Linked DNA regions of Homo sapiens: all the other regions are linked to region 3. Evidence: promoter capture Hi-C in 16 types of primary human blood cells and fetal thymus (Javierre and others, 2016). All regions are on one chromosome and are shown on one strand. The core of a region is centred on a gene start or on the middle of the fragment in contact, and the rest is flanking DNA. Distances in the headings are between cores, read along the strand shown. Region 1 overlaps FAR2 (fatty acyl-CoA reductase 2). Region 2 overlaps FAR2 (fatty acyl-CoA reductase 2). Region 3 holds the start of IPO8 (importin 8). Region 4 has its middle 46 kb from the start of FAR2. Region 5 has its middle 20 kb from the start of FAR2. Region 6 has its middle 6.1 kb from the start of DNM1L. Region 7 overlaps DNM1L (dynamin 1 like).

Region 1 (2,700 bases), core at 37-2,536, 1.4 Mb after region 3:
ACCAGTTGCTGTCATTAATGTTGGGGTACATGGAAAGGATAATATTTGGGGGGATAGGGGCCTTATAAAGCTTGGTGAGTTTGCTTGTCTTAGAAAATTTTGGTTTCGTAGATTTCTGACAGCACGCATGCAAGAAATTTTAATATTCTATAGATGACTTGCCTCTGCTACTCTCAGCTACACCTGTATTCCACTGTTTTATCTTTTCATTCCAATTGTACTTGTGAAAATGGCAATAATTATACTGATTCTAAATTCTCATAAGAGTAAACAGGAATATAAATTACCTAGTTCCAATTGTACTTGTGAAAATGGCAATAATTATACTCATTCTAAATTATCATAAGGGTAAACAGGAATATTCACAACTGCATTTAAGCTCTTTGATAAAACAAAATGAGCCAATAAACCTAAGGCATTGTTATTTTTTAATAAAACAACCAGTGAGCATGCATCTTTGTAGGTAATAGTTAGTTTTAAAGTGTCATTTCTGGCCAAGTGCGGTGACTCAAACCTGTAATCTCAGCACTTTGGGAGGCTGAGGAAGGAGGATCGTTTGAGTCCAGGAGTTTGAGACCAGCCTGGGCAACATAATAACACCCTGCCTCTACAAAAAAAATGTAAAAAAATTAATGGGGCATGGTGGTGTGCACCTGCAGTTCCAGCTACTCAGGAGGCTGAGGCAGGAGGATTGCTTGAGCTTGGGAGTTGGAGGCTCCAATGAGCCATAATTGTGCCACCATACTCCAGCTTGGGTGACAGAGACCCTGTCTCAAAAAAATAAAATAAATAAAAATAAAAATAAACAAATAAAACAAATAAAAATAAAATATCACTTATAATACAGCCAAACAGACCATCTGAAGCTCATCCAGCCACTTCCTAGGTTCAGAGGAGATTAGTGTAATAAACATGCACATCCACTGGTTGGGCCAAGCCATTCTTAGGACTTAAACACTCAATTCAGGGTTGCTGCTGCTGTTTGTTCTCAATTTGTTTTTAAAACAGTAAATAAGTTAGCATAGATAAAAAACACATATAAACCAAAATACATGTCTGAAATTAATCTAAATGTCCTCCAGTATACTCAAGAAGATGTTTTGAACCCATGGGTCTCAAATTCTAAACTTGAATTGCTTCAGAAGAAGCATAAAGTCATTGAAAATTTCAGAAAGCAGTATGTATATGTCTATGTGTGTTCACATATACACACATACACAATTTCTTCTAAATATTATCAATTTTGGTTTCAAACTTATTGAATCAACATGATTATATCATTAATGGTTTATTTATGTATTTACTGAATGAATTACCAAGAGGCATATGTATTTCCCCTCCCCTGATACCCTCAATTTTCTTATGCAACAAGTGGGCAAGCCTAGTAGTTTATCAGGAAATCTGTTAGAGAGTAAGTAGTGGACACACTGTCTTATGATAATGTTTGCTCTCTCTTTCTCCAGGGTAGATTATGTCATTCTCTTGATTGTTGTAGTTATCAAGTTGTATTTGCTTATGTGTCTGTCTCCCCACTGGACAGACAGTGAGTCCAGAAGATCAGGGATTATGATTTTTATCACTGTGTCTAATCACCTTTCTGCCCCCAGGAGCCAGCTGCCTTATTCAGTAAATGCATGTTCTTCCACATGATAATCTTGATTGGCCAATTTCTATACTATGTAAGGTTTTGGGAAGCAGAGATGGACAATGATGAGAGAAAGTGGATGAACTCAAAAGAAGACGAGGTTGTAGGGAGAATGTGGGAAAGGAAGGAAGGGGTTATCTTTTAGAGCAGGAAGCAAAATTGGAAGTAAAGTGTCCAGTGGCAATGGTGAAAAGTGTTGACCAACCTCGTTTTGGTGAAGGTGGCTTCAAGGTCAACTTAAACTTTCCAGTGGGAAGCAGGGTATTTCTGAGCCTAATGCTTATGGAGAATTGGCCTCTGTATTTCCCTCAAGACTTTTACGGAGCACCTAGCCAGGCTCAAACATGAGCCAGATGCTGAATACCCTGCCAATGGCCTGCCATTTGAAAATTACTCAGTTTGGTTAAGAAACAATTTAATCTTATTCTGGTTTGTAATTTAAAGCCTGCTAATATCAAAGTACACAGAATTCTCATTTTTACTTAGCTACATAGATGTCATTTTGAAGCTGTGCCATCCTGAAATTAAAAGCACAAGTGCTAGAATCAGCTTTCACCGTTCCCCTAGAAGAGGTCAGCTTTTTTAGTGTTAACAATGTGTTCTATAGCACGAAGGCAAAAAAGACTACTTTCTAACATCTGACCTCCTTTCATATCTCCCAGAGGACTGTGATAAGGGCCACTGCTGCTGGCTGTGGGGGCCTCCATTCCCCTGCCTCTCACACCTGCACCCTCAGTGCACACGCCACCTTTCCTTTTTCACATGGCAGCTTAGCTGTGTCTTCTGGTGACTGTGTAGCCTCAGAAGCATGGTTTTTAGTAGGTACAGATCTACTAGGAACTTTCCATTAAAGCTTCTAAGAACTGAAAGACAACAGGAGGCAAGGAGAGCAGGAGAAAGAGGGAGCATAGAGATAAAGAAGATAAATGATCCTCATTTCAAATGAAGACTGCTCAGTGAAAAACCTCCTTAAGGTAGTCTTTCCCAAACTTGCCTGCTCATAAATATGAATTACACAGGGCCCCTGGGAAAAATCCAGATTCCTGGGTACCATT
Region 2 (2,700 bases), core at 198-2,697, 1.4 Mb after region 3:
AGTAGGAGAGGAATTTATAACAGAAGCTTACAATGAAGAACCAGACATTCCGAGCCATCTGAGATCTTGCAATGAGAAGGCGCCAGGCGATAAGGAAGAGGGCAGTATTAAAGAGGTAGTGAATATTTCGGAGCCTAGGGAACAGACAGACATAACCAAAGTTAAAACTACCAGATACCCAACCACATTATCTGAAGATAAATATGTGTTTTCCTGGATATGACTGGCAAGTATTTATGAAGTGCTCAGAGTATTTGATATAACTTGGCCAATTGGTTTCTGCGTCTTTCATTTCCACAGCATTCTTGCTGAATAGTCAGATTTCTACCATATTTCCCTAATTTCTCTTATACCTCTCTCCACTTGAAACTATTTACAAGCATGACTAGCATAATCTTGTAAATATACTTTGGTCATGTTACCACATCATAAATCTTCACTGGTTCTTGTTCATTAGAAGGTAAATTCTAAAGTTCTTGGCTTGCTATTCAAGGTTCCTCCTTCCTGTTTTGCAAGCTACTTTTTTATCCTTATCATCTCTGCACTACAGATCCTCTGCTTCTACCAGGATTATACCAGAGTGCTAGAATTCCTTGTCCCTCAGGGATTACGACTGAAAGAAATTTAAGAAAGTTGAAAAAATTGAGGAGTGACTTTTTTCTAGGTTAAATAGCATAATCAGGTCTCCTGCCTGTTGGGTATTTATATCCCATTATGACAGAGTGTGGTAGAAGAAACAAATTTGGGTTCAAATCTGGCTCTTAGACTTACTATGCAATTACCATGGGCAAGTTATTTGCTGTGTTTAAATCTAGATATCTGCCTCATAAAAATGGGGTAACAAAAGTAATACTTGCCTCATAGAGGTGTGGTGAAGTCTAAATGAAACTGTGTTACAGGGTAGAGTATGGAGTGCAGGACCTGTAATGTAGTAAATGCTCAAGAAATGTTCATTCTCCTCTGCACAAATGTTATGTCTGGTATAAAGTCGATGCACAGTAGGTGCTCAATAAATATTAACTGACTGATTATACTTACCTTTTTAAGCGTTGCTTTGCTTTTGGGATCCCAGCCATATCCTCTTTCAATAAGTATTTTTTAACTCCCAAAACATAATTTTCAATGTATTCCAACCAGTTCAACTGGCGCACGTCAAAGTTGAATACCTGAGAGGCAAGAGAGATTATAGATTGCCAGAATTGCAGTGCTGGACAGTCACTTTGTCCACTTGAGGTTTCTTCTACATAGACGAGTGACCTTCAATTTGGGAGACATAGGTTGGACCCTCTCCAAAGGAGAGATTATTTGAGTCATTATTTCAAAGGTACTGATAATATGGATTACTATTTACATAGGAATATTTAAACATGGATCAAACACAAACACTTCACATTTCTTGTGAGGGAGATTTAAAGGAAATAGTATTACATAGTCTGGTGAAAACTTATGGTTGGCTTGGTATATATTTCAGCTAACCGAGGAGTAATTATTTTTAAAAGTGATAGAATAATATGTTAGTGACCAAAACATAAATGATGCAACTTTCCCTTTCCTCTTAAATTTTGGTGTTATCCCTTTGTTCTACCATCCTTTCCTACAGCATTACCATTTCATTATGCAGATTAAACTTTGGGAAGCAAAGCCTTAAGGAATAAGTTACCAGAATTTATATTTAAGAAGAGAGTGATTGGTAGTGAAAGAAAAAAGGAGTGATCACAACATGGGGGAGGAGTAGGGAAGAAGGAGAAGGAAGAGATTGATCTGTTTAGGGAGAGAAGTTGTGCCACATAGAAGACAGATACAGAGAGTGACAATAAAGAAAAATGATTAAAAAATTTTTAAGGTATCTTTGAGGAAGAGAAAAGAAAAACACTTGCATAACCAAAAATGTATTCTTTTTTTGGTTTGTTATGGAAAAGCTGGAGTAAAGATTTGAATTGCATTCCATAGATTTTATTTTTTGTGTACTTTGAAAATGATGCTGAGCTGACACAGGATCAGGAGGTGGCCCAGATTTATATGGATTACAAATGGAGATAGGATGAGTTAGGAAGAGAAACCTGATAGGTCATTCTTGAGCCATCCAGGGATCTTTTCAAAATCTCCATATAAAGGGCCTAATTGGAGAAAGAAAGGGAGGGAAATGATCTTCAAATATATTAGAAAAAATAGTTTTGATTGAATATAAAGAACTTAGGGCACTAAAACTTGTTAGTAGAAAGAGTGTCAAGAAGATTCTGGTATCATCTCTGGAAATATTTCAAGTATTAGGTATTCTTGGAGAGTTTGGTATGACCCTGTTATCAAATAAAAGATTGCATCAGTGAGTGGATTTGGTTCAATAGAGTTTTATTTCATGTATTTGGAGAGAATGGCCTGGAAAATGGACTTGTGCTAGCATTTAAAAAGTCTAATATTTATAAATCTTAGCAAGTGGAGGGTGTGTTTAAGGTGCTTTTGTCCTTCCAATTGGGCACTCTTCTCTCTCCTTGGACATACAGCACTCTCAGATCACTTTTTGTCTATTCATCCCTGGACATTAAAAAAAAAAAAAAGCCTATCTTTAGTGGAGAGTTTCACGTACAGTGAAAGAAAGTTGCTCGTTACTCTTAACTTACTTAACTTCTGGTGAGGCCTCACTAGGAAGGACTTTAATAGCTAAAATGGCTTAATTCAAATAAATGATATTCCTAGAACAAC
Region 3 (2,787 bases), core at 101-2,600:
GTGCATTGGGGGTGTGGCTCGCTTCTTCAGTGCCCCGCTGCTCAGACCTCTAGAGAAGCATACAGACCGGCAGGCTGTGGGGCTCCGACCCCTTGACAGAGTCTGGGGGTGAATGTTTACAGCTCCTGAAGCCCCAGTGGGTGTGTGTTACAGGATGCTCTTTCAGTTTGCCTTTAGGGGGCTTGTGTTAACCAGCTCAATTAGACCCTCTACCTTGTCGCACAGACAGCGAGCTTTCTGTATCCTGGGTTCTTGCCTTGGTGTACCAGAAGAATTGGATCACACGTGGGCTTGGAGAATGAGTGCAAAGTTTTATTGAGTGGAAGTAGCCCTCAGCAGATGAGGGACCCAGAAGGGAAATGGTTTTCCTCTGGAGTTAGGCCGCTTGGCGGCCCGGGCTCTTTTCCGACTGCCCAGGCCAACCTCCGCATCGTTCTGCCCGTGAATGGCCTGCGGATGTGCCAGCGAGCTCCTCTTCTTCCACCCTTATGCTCCTCTGGACGTCTGGCTGCCTGTGTACCTGCCTGCTAGGGTCTGGGGTTTTCATAGGCACAGTATGGGGGAGTGGCAGGCCAGGGTGGTCTTGGGAAATGCAACATTTGGGCTGGAAGGCAGGAGTGTCAGTCCTCACCTAGGTCGGTGGGCGTGGAGCCCTAGCAAGGGACCACACACTCCTCTACCCAGCACTTCACTTCGCCCATCCCTATCATTTAAAGGGACCACGCTCTTCCCTTCCCAGCACTCCCCTATCATTTCTACACTGTAAATTTTTTTTGTTTATATTTGTCTCATCTATCAGGTTGTGAATTCCTTCACATTAACTTGCATGGAATTCATCTTGTTATAATGTGGTACCTAAAAATCCTAGTACTCTGGTTCAAAAATATATGTTTAACAAATGTTCAGTGAAAGCGAATGAATGAATGAACGATGACTCCCACACACGGAGGAACCCTGTCCTCCTGTAAGGTACATGATTTGAAGGTCCCAACAAGTCTATCTTGGAACAGGCCCAGTTGCGATGCCCATACAGTTCTCGGACTAACAAAAAGTGTCACACCATCCAGATATGCTTAATTTGGAAGCAGCTGTAAGCAGACTCCCGGCCAGCTCAAGTTTCCTCACCTGGGAAGAGGCGGGAGGCTGTTTACCGTACGGAAGCATAGCGGCCGCCTGCCTGAGTTCGGGAGCGCGGGTTCCTTTCCGGGAAAGAAGCCTAGGCCGTTTTCCGTACAGCAGCATGGCGGCCGCCGACGGGAGGCGGTCATAGCATCACGCCCGGGGGAAGAGGCCGCCGTAAAGGAAGCTCTGCTTCCTCTTCTTCCTTCTCCCGCCTCCCACCGGCTGTCGTAAAACGGTGAATGGAGAGCGAGTTGTGGGGGGGAAAAAGGGAGGACAGGGGGCGCGGAGTCAGAGTGGCGCAGCAAGTGGCCGCAGGTGGCGACGGTGGCGGGGGGTGGGGTGTGAGGTAATCCAGGGGTCGCGGAAGAGGAGGCTGAGAGGGTCAAAAGAAAACTAAAGCTGCAGTCCGGCCTACTGTTCCGGGGGCCGCGGAGCCCCCACCCGGGGAGATGGACCTCAACCGGATCATCCAGGCGCTGAAGGGCACCATCGACCCGAAGTTGCGGATTGCAGCCGAGAACGAGCTCAACCAGGTGAGGAGAGGGTCTTCGGCGACCCTCTTCCGCCGAAGGGGCGCCCCTGCCGGCTGGCCGGGCTCCCTCTCCCCGGCGCCCCTCGTCCTCACCCCCACCGGGCTGGGGCTGACGCCTCACGGCTGGTCCCGCTCTCCGACCCCGCTGCCCCCCGGTCCAGTGGAGCAGGGCTCCCAGGATCTTTGCCGAACAGCTCGCGCACCTGTTGGCCACCTTTGCACCTTTTCGTGTCGTCTCCCTTCTCCAGGGCAGTTTGTTCTGCCTACTTGGTCCGCAAGAAGCAGTTTTTGCAACCTGTGCTAGTGTTTTCAGGGTGTGATTTATTTTCCTTAAGTGCGCGGACTTGGGGAGCAGGTGGGAATTTTACTTACAGTTCAAATCTGAGTTCAGCTTTTTTCCAAACCCAGCCCTTTTTAGGTGTTGCTGTGGAGCACGCTGCCCACCGCCTCCTCCTGTCGGGTTGGCAGGACTGTTTTGACACCGATTGGCCGAGTTTTGCGGAGCGCTGGGCAGTGCTGTTGGGAGAGTGCTCTGGGAAGAATAGGCAGTTTTCATGGTGATACTGCTTTATCTAAGACACATCAAAGTAAGATGTGTTGGAGAAATTTCTTATGAATGCTAAAATGTGTAAGACTTCTTTCTTTTCTCCGTCTCCTGTTCTTCCTAATTAGCCTTGACGTCTTTCCAGCGTTACCCCCACACTTCAAAATTTTAATGATCCCAAACTCCAGCTTATTTCTTCTTCCCTACCGGTACTTAAGAATCACAGACCTCTTACTAAAAAGTAGGGATTAAGAGCTACCACTGGGATGGAGCAACAGCTGTTTTAGGTTGTGATGACTTGTAAAATGTAAATATTCCAAAATCAGCTGTTCTCAAAGCGTTGCCCAGGACCTGGAGCTTCAGCATCACCTGAGAACTTACAAATTATGCAAATTACGGGGCTTCAGTCCAGACTTAACGAATCAGAAACTGTGGGGGTGGGACCAGTTGTATTTTAACTAGCTCCCCCAGGTGATTCTGTGCCTCCCGAAGTGTGACTGAAGTGTGACTGTCCTAAGTAAATGTTTCTGTTGGAATTGACTTTAAAAAGCTGCGTGTTGGGAATCTTTGAAAGGGATTATTTTAATAG
Region 4 (2,861 bases), core at 105-2,604, 1.6 Mb after region 3:
CATGGGTGTGAAATAAAACATGGGCATTTTCAATTCACATTTTTCTTAAAAAGTCATGATGCAATTGAAGGTTTTTAGTAACACTGATTCACTGCCTCGATCAACATGTTTCCTAACTCCTGGTTCTATTTTGAGACTAGATGGAACATTAATACACTTAACACGATTCTTTTAGGATCTGTCCCACCTACAGCAAACTGTTCAGGAGCTGAAAACACAAAAGAACCTTGGTAATGTCTCAGGAATTGCAGACCTCAAACTAGGCTCAGGTGAGAAGTGGAGCCACTGCGCTTCCCTCTTTCTACTCCTTGGTTTTCTTGGTAGCAAACCAAAAGCACCTAAAGTGATACATGGTAATGGAGAACCATCCAAAGGTAGGGCTAATAACTCGATCATTCTCCTAGCTCTCAGCACTGGCCTTCTTTCTTCATCATCCAAGATCTATACATAGTTAAAAGTGAGTGAGGTCTATCCTGCCTTTGAAGAACCCATAGTCTAGTGGGAGATGCTGACATTAGTATTATTACTGTAATATAGTGTCATAAATAAAATTCTAGGGGATATTCTGCTAGTGCAGAGGGGAAAGCATCAACCAATGAAGTGTAGAGGGCAAGGGAATGTTTGGTAAGAGAAGGATTCTTGGAGACAAATAGGAAATGTTTCCCTGATGGAAAGAGGCTTTGGTGTAGTGTGGGGAAGAACCATGCATGCAGAAAACAATAGCTTGTGTGATTCAGAAACAAGGTAAAAGACTGTGGAGTGTGTGTGAGGAGGCACAAGATGTTCCCTATGGTGACAATGTAAATGTGGGAAGGGGGAACTGAGGGATGTGAAGCAGGGGCCTGCACAGAGAGGCTCTTGGATGCTGTGCTAAGGATCTTAGATCTTATTCTGTAGAACATGGAGAAGCCTCGAAATGTGTGAGGCAGGAAATGACATGAGTAGGTTTCATTTTCGATAAACCGCAGTGGTAGCTGTGCATGGGATAAACTTGAGAGGAACAACCCTGAAAGCAAGAAACCGGTTAGAAATTTGGAGATATTGGTGATAATCACTGAGTTTCAGTTTCAATTTCATAACACTCATAAGAAAATATTGCAATGAGACAGCGTAAGGCATGGGGTTTGAAGCCAGAGGGCCTGGGTTTGAATTTGCCTGTGTTACTCCAGGCAAATCATTAAAGTCCAAGACTCATGTGTAGAGTCTTCCTTCATGTGTAGAATGGGAATAAAAATAAAGCTGTCTTATCAGTTAGTATGAAAATTAACAAGATGATCAATGCAAATTGCATAGCACAGTGCTTGGTATTATATAGCCCTTGATAAATATTAACCACTATCATCACATAATAAACAGCAAAATAAAGAAATGTAGTAAGAAATATCAATGAAATTTCTGAAAAATATAACCACTCATTCCAATCTAATACTGTAAAAAAATGATCGTTTTTATTCCAGCAAGGACTCAGGAAAAAAACCTATCAAAATGAAAACAGCAAAGGGAACTTAGTTGTTTTCTGCAAAAGAAATCCTGCCCTTGTTGACATGTACCCTGGTTTCCAAAATGCAAAGTTGTATAGTTTTCATGACCTTGTGTTAAGTTACACATAGGGAAAATGCAAAGTAGGTATCATTATTTCTGCAGTGTGTTAACTGATGATAAAAAATATTTGATGTAGTCAGTAGCTACAGATCCTATCAGTACTTGAAAGGCTTCACTGCCCAGAGTTGATGAATAAAACCGCAGTTCTTTTTGGCTGGCTTCATAAGATCTCACAGTATCTTTCCTTGACTGGCTGATGACAATGGAATGAAGTACAGGTGTGAGTTTCATTGTATTCAACCTATTTTTAACGTATTTAGTAGTTTTCTTTTTCTATCATTTTGATGTATTTAAATTTTGTAATTTTATTTGTTTGTTTTATATTTAAAAATTGATTTATTTGCAAATGTTTCAAAATATGGGAGTTTAAAACAACATTTAAAAACCCCCTCCACTTTACTACTCTATATTCTTCTACCCAACCTAGTGGTCTGTCCTAACCTTGAAGATGAGACCTGAGCAATTATAGGCTTCTTGATAGAATCAATCCCTTAGTCATTCTAAAGATGACTACGATTACAGGGCAAATTTTACCAGGAAGCACTTCTATTATTATTATGAAGATAACAGTTCTCTTTATCTTTAGCTCATCTGCAGTCTATTTGTAAACTATGCATTTAGCCAAAAGCACATAAAAATTGTTTCAAGGGAAAATACTCATTTTTATAAGCTAGTAGACTAAAACGATTTAAATCCATAGAAGAAGTAGAAAATAACTAGTCAGAAAAGACTTTTTATTTTTTGTGGGGAATTTTTGGATATCACGACAAATATAGTAGAAAACACTATTTTTTTTAATGAAGTGCCAAACACCAAACTATAAAACTCCCAGCAGACAGCAGAAAAACAGGTAGATTAACTACGGTTTGGCCATGAATTCTTAGATACTGCATGAAAAACACAATCCATTAAAGAAGAAATTAGTATACTAGATTTTTTAAATTAAAAACTGCTTTACATAGATAATGTTAAGAGAATAAAGCAAGCCACAGACTGGGGGAAAACCTTTGAAAAATACACATCTAGAAGAACTGGTATTCAAAATATGCAAAGAATTCTTAAAACTCAAAGGTAAGAAAGCAAACAACCCAATTAAAAATAAGCAAAATATCTCAACAGACAATCAAAGAAGATATCAAATGGCAAATGAGAAAATGCTCAGTATCATATGTCAGTAGGGATTTAAATTAAAACAACAACGAGATGCCACTATATAACTATTAGAATGGCAGATATCCAAAATACTGACAACACTAAAT
Region 5 (2,872 bases), core at 283-2,782, 1.6 Mb after region 3:
CTTTTGAGAATGCTCTTGAGAACATTAGGAGAATCCATACTGAGAATACAACATGGTTACCACTGAATTGACTAAAGGCATATTCTCTCTATTGCCTATTATGCAGACCTTAAAATGAATTAATTATAACTTTGTCAGTTGGATTGCACTAATTTCCATGAGGTTTAGCTTGCGAAGAAAGTAACAATATGAAAGACATTTATAATATGACCTTGTTGCCTTTAAACCATTGTCAAAAAACTTTCAATATGTTTATATATAGAGAGAAATATAGGTCTATCCCAGCACTTTGGGAGGCCGAGACGGGTGGATCACGAGGTCAGGAGATCGAGACCATCCTGGCTAACACGGTGAAACCCCATCTCTACTAAAAATACAAAAAAATTAGCCGGGCTTGGTGGTGGGCGCCTGTAGTCCCAGCTACTTGGGAGGCTGAGGCAGGAGAATGGCGTGAACTTGGGAGGTGGAGCTTGCAGTGAGCCGAGATCGCGCCACTGCCCTCCAGCCTGGGCGACAGAGCGAGACTCCGTCTGAAAAAAAAAAAAAAAAAAAGAAATATAGGTCTATAAAAGCATACAGAAAATCAGAAGGATACATACTTGATTATTAACATTATTTTGGTTGTTGGAAAAGAGGCACTAATGCATGGGGGTGGGGGAGTGAGAGAGGACTACCAGGCAAGGAAGAACAAAGAAAAAGACTGAAACACAATTCGAGGTATCATCTAGTTGTATTTATGCACATATGCAAAATTATATTTAAAAATTTTAATTAAAAAGTATGTTGGGAGGCACCACTTCATCCTAACCAGTATATAGCTGAACAAACTGAAAAATCAATCACTTTTCTTAGATATGTCAGAGAAGTGAGGTCACAGGGCAAACTGCTACCCTCAAAATTGGAGAGACAGATGGGCAGATAAGAGAATCACAACTTACCAGAGCAGAAACCTGTGTGGGAACCAGTGTCAGGGTAGGAAAACCTAAACCATAAATGATGAATTGCTGGAGGCTTGGTATTGACAAGTGTAAGAGCTAAAAGCTCCAGGGAGAAGACACCCCCAGAAACACAATTTTGTGAGTTCTACCTTAAGGACCTCTTTTCATATCCTCCTAGTAAATATTAAGGAAAAAATCCTCTCTTACTTAAAGCGCTGAAAGAAAAGACACACCAACTTCACATCCTGTGCCCTGTGATATAATCCTTCTAAAAAAGAAGGAAAAACGAAGACTTTCTCAGACAAATAAAAAAATGAGGGATTTGTTGCCAGTAGAACTGCCTTGAGGGGAATGTTAAAAGAAGTTCTTCAGAGAGAAGGAAAATGATATGGATCAGAAACTCACATCCACATGAAGAAAGGAAGAGCATCGGTGAATGAATAAGTGAAAATAAAACAAAACCTTTCATTTTCCTAGTCTTAACTGATCTAACAGATAACAATTTGTTTAAAATAATAGCAATCATGTATTCAATTTATATGCATATATATGCTTGCGTGTGCTTCTGTATACATGAAACAAATGACAGCAAAGATATAAGGGATGGGAGAGAGGAATTGAGAATATTTTGTTATTATAAGGTACTTACACTACCTGTGAAATAGTATAGTGATATTTGAAAGTGGATTTGGATTAGTTGTAAGCATATGTTGTAGACTCTAGGGCAATCACCAAAAAAAGTTAAAAAGGGAATATAAAGATAGGAAAAAACCTAGTGCATTTTCTGTGTTCACACACTGAGCACAAACCTTCTAATACCAGATGTGAGGGGGATATTCCCCATACACCAAGCAACTCTCCAGCAGACACCAACTGGGTGTCCTATAATTCAATTAAATTCTGACATGATCTCCCTGGAGTTAGAGTCATAGCCCATAAAGTTTCTGTGCCGCATACTGCCTCCCACTCCTAGATGCTAACAGTAGGTTGTCACCTCTACTTCTCACTGACTGGCTATAAATTGGGAGTTCCCAGGACACCCTCCTCTGGTTCAATTAATTTGTTAGGGAAGCTCATAGAACTAGGGGAAACACTTTCACTTTATTTATGTTTACTGGTTTTACTAATAAAGGATTTAATCAAGGACACAGATGAACAGCCAGATGAAGGGATGCATAGCGAGAGATCTGGAAGGGCCCCAATGCAGGAGGGAGCTCCTGTCTCCATGCAGTTGGGATGCATCACCCTCCAGCTCATAGATGTGTTTGACAACCCAGAAGCTCTCTGAACCTCATAGTTCAGGGATTTTTATAGGGGTTTTATCATGTAGGCATGATTGATTTTTAATTCCATGTCTGGCCTCTCTCTCCTTTCTGGGGTATGGAGAATGAAGCTGAAAGCTCTAAGCTAATCATGGTTTGGTCTTCCTAGTGACCAGCACCCATCCAGGAGCACACCAAGAGTTACCTCATTAAAACAAAAGATGCTCCTGTCACCCAAGAATTTCAAAAGAATTTAGGAGCTCTGTGTCCTATGCTTCGATTACTCAGGATATTATAGAAGTTTTAGGAGCTTTATGTCAGGAAACAAGATCAAATACCAAATATTAGAACAAAAAATTATCCTAGCACCCCTACGTACATATTAGAAACTCTATCTCAGGAATTGGGCAGAGACCAAACATTAGAAAAAAAAATTATCCTAGCATCTCTATTGCTCAGGAAATTACAAGGGTTTTTGGAGCTCTGTGCCAGGGACAGTAAACAGACCAATATATACATTTATTATTTCACAGGAGGTATAATTGATATACTAATAAGGGAGAGAAAATAGAATCATATAAAATGCTCGATTAAAACCAAAAAAGGCAGAAAAAGTATAGAAGACAAAAATAGGAACAAAGCACAAGGGTAACAAGTATAAAACAGTAACAA
Region 6 (2,700 bases), core at 6-2,505, 2.0 Mb before region 3:
GTCTCACACAGGTCTCACTGGACTAAAATCAAGGTGTCACCAGGGCTGCAAACCCTCCTAAAGCCTCTAGCAGGGAATTCACCTCCTTGCCTTTGTTAGGGGCCCCCTGCATTCCTTGCTGGTTACCTCCTTCCAACCTCTTCAAAGCCAGCAATGTCGCATCTCTTTAACTCTTCTGCTGTCATCAGGCCTCTGACCCCCAGAAAAGCTTCTCTGTGTTTAAGGGCCCATCATTAGATTGGCCAACCTGGACAACCCAGGATAATATCCCTGTCTCAAGGCCTGTACCCTTAATCACATCTACAGAGTCTCTCCTGAGACATAAAGTTCACAGGCTCCAGGGATTAGGACATGGACTTATTGGAGGGGCCTACTGCACCTGGTTAAGGTGATTGGTCTAGGGATGGACCTGCAGGACCATTTAGAATCCTTCTCTGAGAATTTCCTAACCTGAATTTGAACAAAAATATTTTCTCTCTCTGGTTATAGAACTGTAAGCATGTGAGTCAATGTCTCCAAAGATCATGTTTCCTATCTCATGGAATAAATTGGTTTGCAAGAATAAACTTCTTTATTCACCTTGAAGAACTTCCCCAAATTCAGTAACTTACCCATATATATACATATATATATATATTTTTTTTTTTTTTTGAGACAGAGTCTTGCTCTATCACCCAGGCTGGAGTGCAGTGGTGCAATCTCAGCTCACTGCAAGCTCCGCCTCCTGGGTTCACGCCATTCTCCTACCTCAGCCTCCCGAATAACTGGGACTACAGGCGCCCACCGCCACACCCGGCTAATTTTTTGTATTTTTAGTAGCGATGGGGTTTCACCATGTTAGCCAGGATGGTCTTGATCTCCTGACCTCGTGATCTGCCCGCCTCAGCCTCCCAAAGTGCTGGGATTACAGGCATGAGCCACTGCGCCTGGCCAACTTTCCCATATTTTTAAATGTACATGTGCTGTACAGCACATAACATCAGAATTCTAATCCCCATAGTTAACCATATGAATTTCTCCATTTTTCCTTGTTGCCCTTTTCACACAATATTATTGAACTATTATTTAAGTGCTTATTGTATGTGAGGCACTATACTAAGCATTTTATCAGAGCCTCGTGAAGTAGGTTTAGAGATGTAGAAACGGAGGCTCCAGGGATTGAAGTGAAGTGGTAAATTTACACAGCTAGTATGTGGCAGAGATGGGATGAAAAGGGGCTTTTTGGCAAACCCCCTTTTTTTTCTTTTTTTTGAAACAGTCTTACTCTGTCGCCACAGTGGTGCGATCTCAACTCACTGCAACCTCTGCCTCCCAGGTTCAAGCAATTCTCCTGTCTCAGCCTCCCCAGTAGCTGGAACTACAAGCGCACACCGCCTCGCCAGGCTAATTTTTGTATTTTTAGTAGAGACTGGGTTTCACCATATTGGTCAGGCTGGTCTTAAACTCCTGACCTCAGGTGATCCACCCGCCTCGGACTCCCAAAGTGCTGGGATTACAGGTGTGAGCCACCATGCCCGGCAGCAAACTCTCAACCGCTACACATTCTGCCTCGTGTATTTATTCCTTTCTTCATTAATTCAACACATATTGATGAAGTACTTGTTAGGCATACGGATCTTAGCCAGGCAGTATATTTTGCTGGAGAGTAGGGAGGAACCGTGGATATGGCACTAACATGCCCTCCCCCTTCACCAATAGTGAGCTCACGAAGGGCAGAAGTGATTATCTTATTTAGCTGGGTTCCCCCACTACCTCGTATGAAGCGTGTTACATAATATTAGTCTACTGGATATGGGGTTTTCTTTTCTTTTTTATTTGGAAAATCTGGAATAACAAGGATTTAAGCAGCTCTGAATTGATATAATTGCAACCAGGACTGGCAATCAAATCTCACCAACACATATGAGTCTGGCTTGGCATAGGACTCCTCATTAGAATAGATGCCAAGTTACTTAGCTAGGGAGTAGCCTGGCTTTGTTCTAACTTAAAATCCCGAATTAGAGGAAGTTTATTTTGGATTAAATTAATAACTGGAAATTAATCGATCTTGGAAAAGGTCAGACTGTTTTTATCGCATGTGTCCAATATCATTTTATGCCAACATTTTGATCATCAATCACAGCCAAGATGCCGGTATCTGCACCTTCAAATCATAGCGGTTAGTGGGGATCTAATGTTAATATAAAATATACAGCTCTGTTGGGGAAGCCTCTTTGTCATATTTTGGAAACTGCCCGTGTTTTGCAAAGATGATAAAGTAAACAGCTTTAATCAATTTGCTACTCCCCAGGCCTCAAGCTTAACACATACTTTGTTAGCAGGTGCAGGAAATTGTTTGCAGATGGTGGAATTGGCCAGATGGTTCAGAAGCCAGAAATTGAATCTGGTGAGATACTGACGGGACCATGAGAGGGCAGTGTGACAACACAATTAAGAGCAGTTAACGACAAAATAACTTGGGAGTTAAGATATGGTCCTGATTTCTTCCCTTTGCTCCACACCCACACCCCAATAGAACGTAGCCCTTCTTTTTATCCTCCTACCATCAAAATTTGTGGCATATTTTAGAAACTATTTGAGATAATAGAGTTATTTTATTTATATTTATATATTTATTTTTGAGATCAAGTCTCGCTCTGTAGCCCAGGCTGGAGTGCAGTGGCACAATCTCAGCTCACTGCAACCTCTGCCTCCTGGGTT
Region 7 (2,700 bases), core at 19-2,518, 2.0 Mb before region 3:
TGGTTTTCCTATCCTATTTGTTCTGTTTTAGGGGAAAGTCATATAGATATTTAGGAAACTATTCTACCACTGCTGTCATCTTCCCAGGATCCCTAATATGGATATTTAATCCACTAGAGGTATCAAGACTAATGTTTAGTCTTATAAAAGTTATTTTATACTTCAGTCATAAAAAGGAATAAGGTACCGATGCACGCTCCAACATGGATGAATCTAAAAACATTATTCTGCTAAGTTAAAGTTAGTCAGTCACAAAAGACCACATATTATTTGACCCTGTTTATATGAAATGTCCAAAATATGGCCGGGCGCGGTGGCTCACGCCTGTAATCCCAGCACTTTGGGAGGCCAAGGCAGGCGGATCACAAGGTCAGGAGTTCGAGACCAACCTGGCCAACATGGTGAAACCCCATCTCAACTAAAAATACAAAAATTACACGGGCAAGGTGGCACGCACCTGTAGTCCCAGCTACTCAGGATAGGCTGAGGCAGCAGAACTGCTTGAACCCAGGAGGCGGAGGTTGTAGTGAGCCAAGACTGTGCCACTGCACTCCAGCCTGGGCAACAGGGCGAGACTCCATCTCAAAAAAAGAGAAATGTCCAAAATAGGCAAATCTATAGCTAGAAAGTAGATTATGTGGCTGTTTAGGGACAGAGTGAAGAAGAATGGGGAGTGACTACTAATGGATACCAGGTTTCTTTCTAGAATGATGGTATATTCTAAAATTAGTTTAAAGGTGATGGAAAGGCCAGGCGAGGTGGCACATGCCTGTAACCCCAGCAATGTGGGAGGCCAAGGTAGGCAGATCACTTGAGGCCAAGGAGTTCAAGACCATCCTGGGCAACATGGTGAAACCTCATCTTTACAAAAAATAAAAAAATTAGCCAGGCAAGGTTGCACATGCCTGTAGTACCAGCTGCTCGGGAGGCTTAGACAGATGGATCACTTGAGCCCAGGGGATTGAGGCTGCAGTGAGCCATGGTCATGCCACTGCACTCCAGCCTGGGCAAGAGAGTGAGACCCTGTCTTAAAAAGAAAAGAAAAAAGAAAAGTTTAAGGTGATGGTTGTGCGACTCTATAAATATGCTAAAAAAAACACTGAATTACACATTGTAAATGGGTATGTTATGGTATAGAGTGTATCTCAGTAAAGCTGTTAAAAAACAAAATAAAGGAGAATGACTTCTTAAACAATATACAAAATGTACAAAACCACAGAAGAAAAGATAATTCAACCACAATAAAATTAAAACTTCTTTTCCTCACAGAAAAAATTCAGGGAAAACATTTGTGATCCATAAGTAACTGGTAACCAAAATGTATAAATAACTCCCACAAATCAAATTCTTAAAAATACCTAACAAAATAATGTGCAGAGATATCAACAAAAACTCACAAAACAAAACCTCAAAGAGCCAAGAAACATGATAAGATGCTCACACTCACTAGTAATCAGGAGGATGCAATAGAAACCACAATGAGGTACCATAAATTTAAAATGTGACTATAGAAAGTACAGATATAAATAAACTTCACTCTGTTGATGGGAATGTAAATTACAGCCATCCTGAGAAGCAATAGCAATATCCAATAAATATACCCTACAGTCTGGCAATTCCACTCCTTGATTCGTTAGAGAAATTCTCAAACATGAGACATTTATATGAATATCCGCAGTACCACTGTTTACAAAAACAGCTATAGCAAACACTGGGGAACACACAAATTTCAACAGGATATATTCCTATAATGGACCATTATATAGCAGTATAAGTGAACAAACTGGGATTATATGTGTGTATATAAATAAATTTCACATGACTGTGTAAAAACATATATACAGATTACAGCTACTTTGTGACTGATAGTGAGTGGAACTTCCACCTGATATATCCCTATTATACTATGAAAATGTACAAATACCTGAAATGTAAAAATGAGCCTAATGTTAAGATGGATAGGAAGGACACTGTGACTAGTTCTGTGTGGAGTTTGGTAGCACTGTGATTCATTTGATGCTTCTAGAAACCACAAAAAACTATACATTGGAGAAATTATGGACTCTGTGTTCTTATGATGACTAGTTAGTTCTGAAGCACCTGGACATTATCTGAAGACTTCATTCTTGGAATAGAAGATGACATTTCATCCCTGACTCCAGTGGAGTTCAAGTGTGAATAAAATGATATGAACTGCTTTTGTCATTTCAGAATTAGACTGAGTCACTTCTTGGAAAATATAGCTCCTAAACCCCAGTTTAGGTGCTGTTAAAATAAGTATCATCTACCTCACGGGTACTCATGGTGACTGACTCTTGGAGACTCTAGAATGCACCAAAACAAACAAACAAACAAACAAATTCCAGACATTCAAACTAAAACTTTTAACATGTTGTCGCTATTCCTGAGATCCCAGCAGGACTTCCTGGAGCCTGTGCTTAACTTGATCTCTCTGCTTAGATTTTAATTAATTTTGCTTAAATGTAAATCTTATTCTATAGAATGGAATGAGCAAAATTTTAAATAATTAAAATATATATCACCACCCAAAAAGAAAAAAAGAGAAAATGGTTATAGTATGAATGAATACAGAATTTTATAATCACAATTTCCCTAAGAACTCTATTAAACATTTCTCCATGCAGTAACATTTACTGTGACAGATTGGAATCTAATGCCAGTCTGATTCTCTTTCCCGTT

Evidence for each region. The method cuts DNA at HindIII sites, captures the fragments that hold promoters and counts their contacts. A CHiCAGO score of 5 or more calls a contact.
Region 1: a fragment that was not itself captured here is called in contact with the fragment with the promoter of IPO8 in region 3 in 1 of 17 cell types (total B cells); the score reaches 5.1 in total B cells.
Region 2: a fragment that was not itself captured here is called in contact with the fragment with the promoter of IPO8 in region 3 in 8 of 17 cell types (neutrophils, non-activated CD4 T cells, naive CD8 T cells and 5 more); the score reaches 12.4 in neutrophils.
Region 4: a contact is called between a fragment that was not itself captured here and the fragment with the promoter of IPO8 in region 3, in 6 of 17 cell types (activated CD4 T cells, non-activated CD4 T cells, naive CD8 T cells and 3 more). The highest score is 12.6, in activated CD4 T cells.
Region 5: a contact is called between a fragment that was not itself captured here and the fragment with the promoter of IPO8 in region 3, in 1 of 17 cell types (neutrophils). The highest score is 6.0, in neutrophils.
Region 6: a fragment that was not itself captured here is called in contact with the fragment with the promoter of IPO8 in region 3 in 4 of 17 cell types (non-activated CD4 T cells, total B cells, activated CD4 T cells and 1 more); the score reaches 9.0 in non-activated CD4 T cells.
Region 7: a contact is called between a fragment that was not itself captured here and the fragment with the promoter of IPO8 in region 3, in 1 of 17 cell types (activated CD4 T cells). The highest score is 7.2, in activated CD4 T cells.

The regions. Positions count from the first base shown.
Region 1 is chr12:29,303,230-29,305,929 of GRCh38, reverse strand. The region is part of intron 4 of FAR2 (fatty acyl-CoA reductase 2); the gene reads right to left. All of the region lies in intron 3 of FAR2-AS1 (FAR2 antisense RNA 1), which reads left to right. Among named protein-coding and RNA genes, the nearest start is that of FAR2-AS1, 13 kb to the left of the region's middle. The HindIII fragment of the contact is 2,428 bases long and covers 73-2,500 here.
Region 2 is chr12:29,331,066-29,333,765 of GRCh38, reverse strand. It overlaps FAR2 (fatty acyl-CoA reductase 2), which reads right to left. Exons shown (of 12, transcript NM_001271783.2): 11 at 1,039-1,166; 12 at 1-134. Among named protein-coding and RNA genes, the nearest start is that of FAR2-AS1, 15 kb to the right of the region's middle. The HindIII fragment of the contact is 2,837 bases long and covers 29-2,700 here.
Region 3 is chr12:30,694,432-30,697,218 of GRCh38, reverse strand. It overlaps IPO8 (importin 8), which reads left to right and starts at 1,350. Exons shown (of 25, transcript NM_006390.4): 1 at 1,350-1,655. The coding sequence starts at 1,572. RefSeq lists an enhancer at 961-1,460 and a silencer at 1,551-1,600. The HindIII fragment of the contact is 4,530 bases long and covers 1-2,787 here.
Region 4 is chr12:29,101,807-29,104,667 of GRCh38, reverse strand. No RefSeq gene overlaps it. Among named protein-coding and RNA genes, the nearest start is that of FAR2, 46 kb to the left of the region's middle. The HindIII fragment of the contact is 3,674 bases long and covers 1-2,861 here.
Region 5 is chr12:29,128,191-29,131,062 of GRCh38, reverse strand. No RefSeq gene overlaps it. Among named protein-coding and RNA genes, the nearest start is that of FAR2, 20 kb to the left of the region's middle. The HindIII fragment of the contact is 5,194 bases long and covers 1-2,872 here.
Region 6 is chr12:32,671,806-32,674,505 of GRCh38, reverse strand. No RefSeq gene overlaps it. Among named protein-coding and RNA genes, the nearest start is that of DNM1L, 6.1 kb to the left of the region's middle. RefSeq lists an enhancer at 1-312. The HindIII fragment of the contact is 2,090 bases long and covers 211-2,300 here.
Region 7 is chr12:32,691,986-32,694,685 of GRCh38, reverse strand. The region is part of intron 1 of DNM1L (dynamin 1 like); the gene reads right to left. Among named protein-coding and RNA genes, the nearest start is that of DNM1L, 14 kb to the right of the region's middle. The HindIII fragment of the contact is 2,885 bases long and covers 1-2,700 here.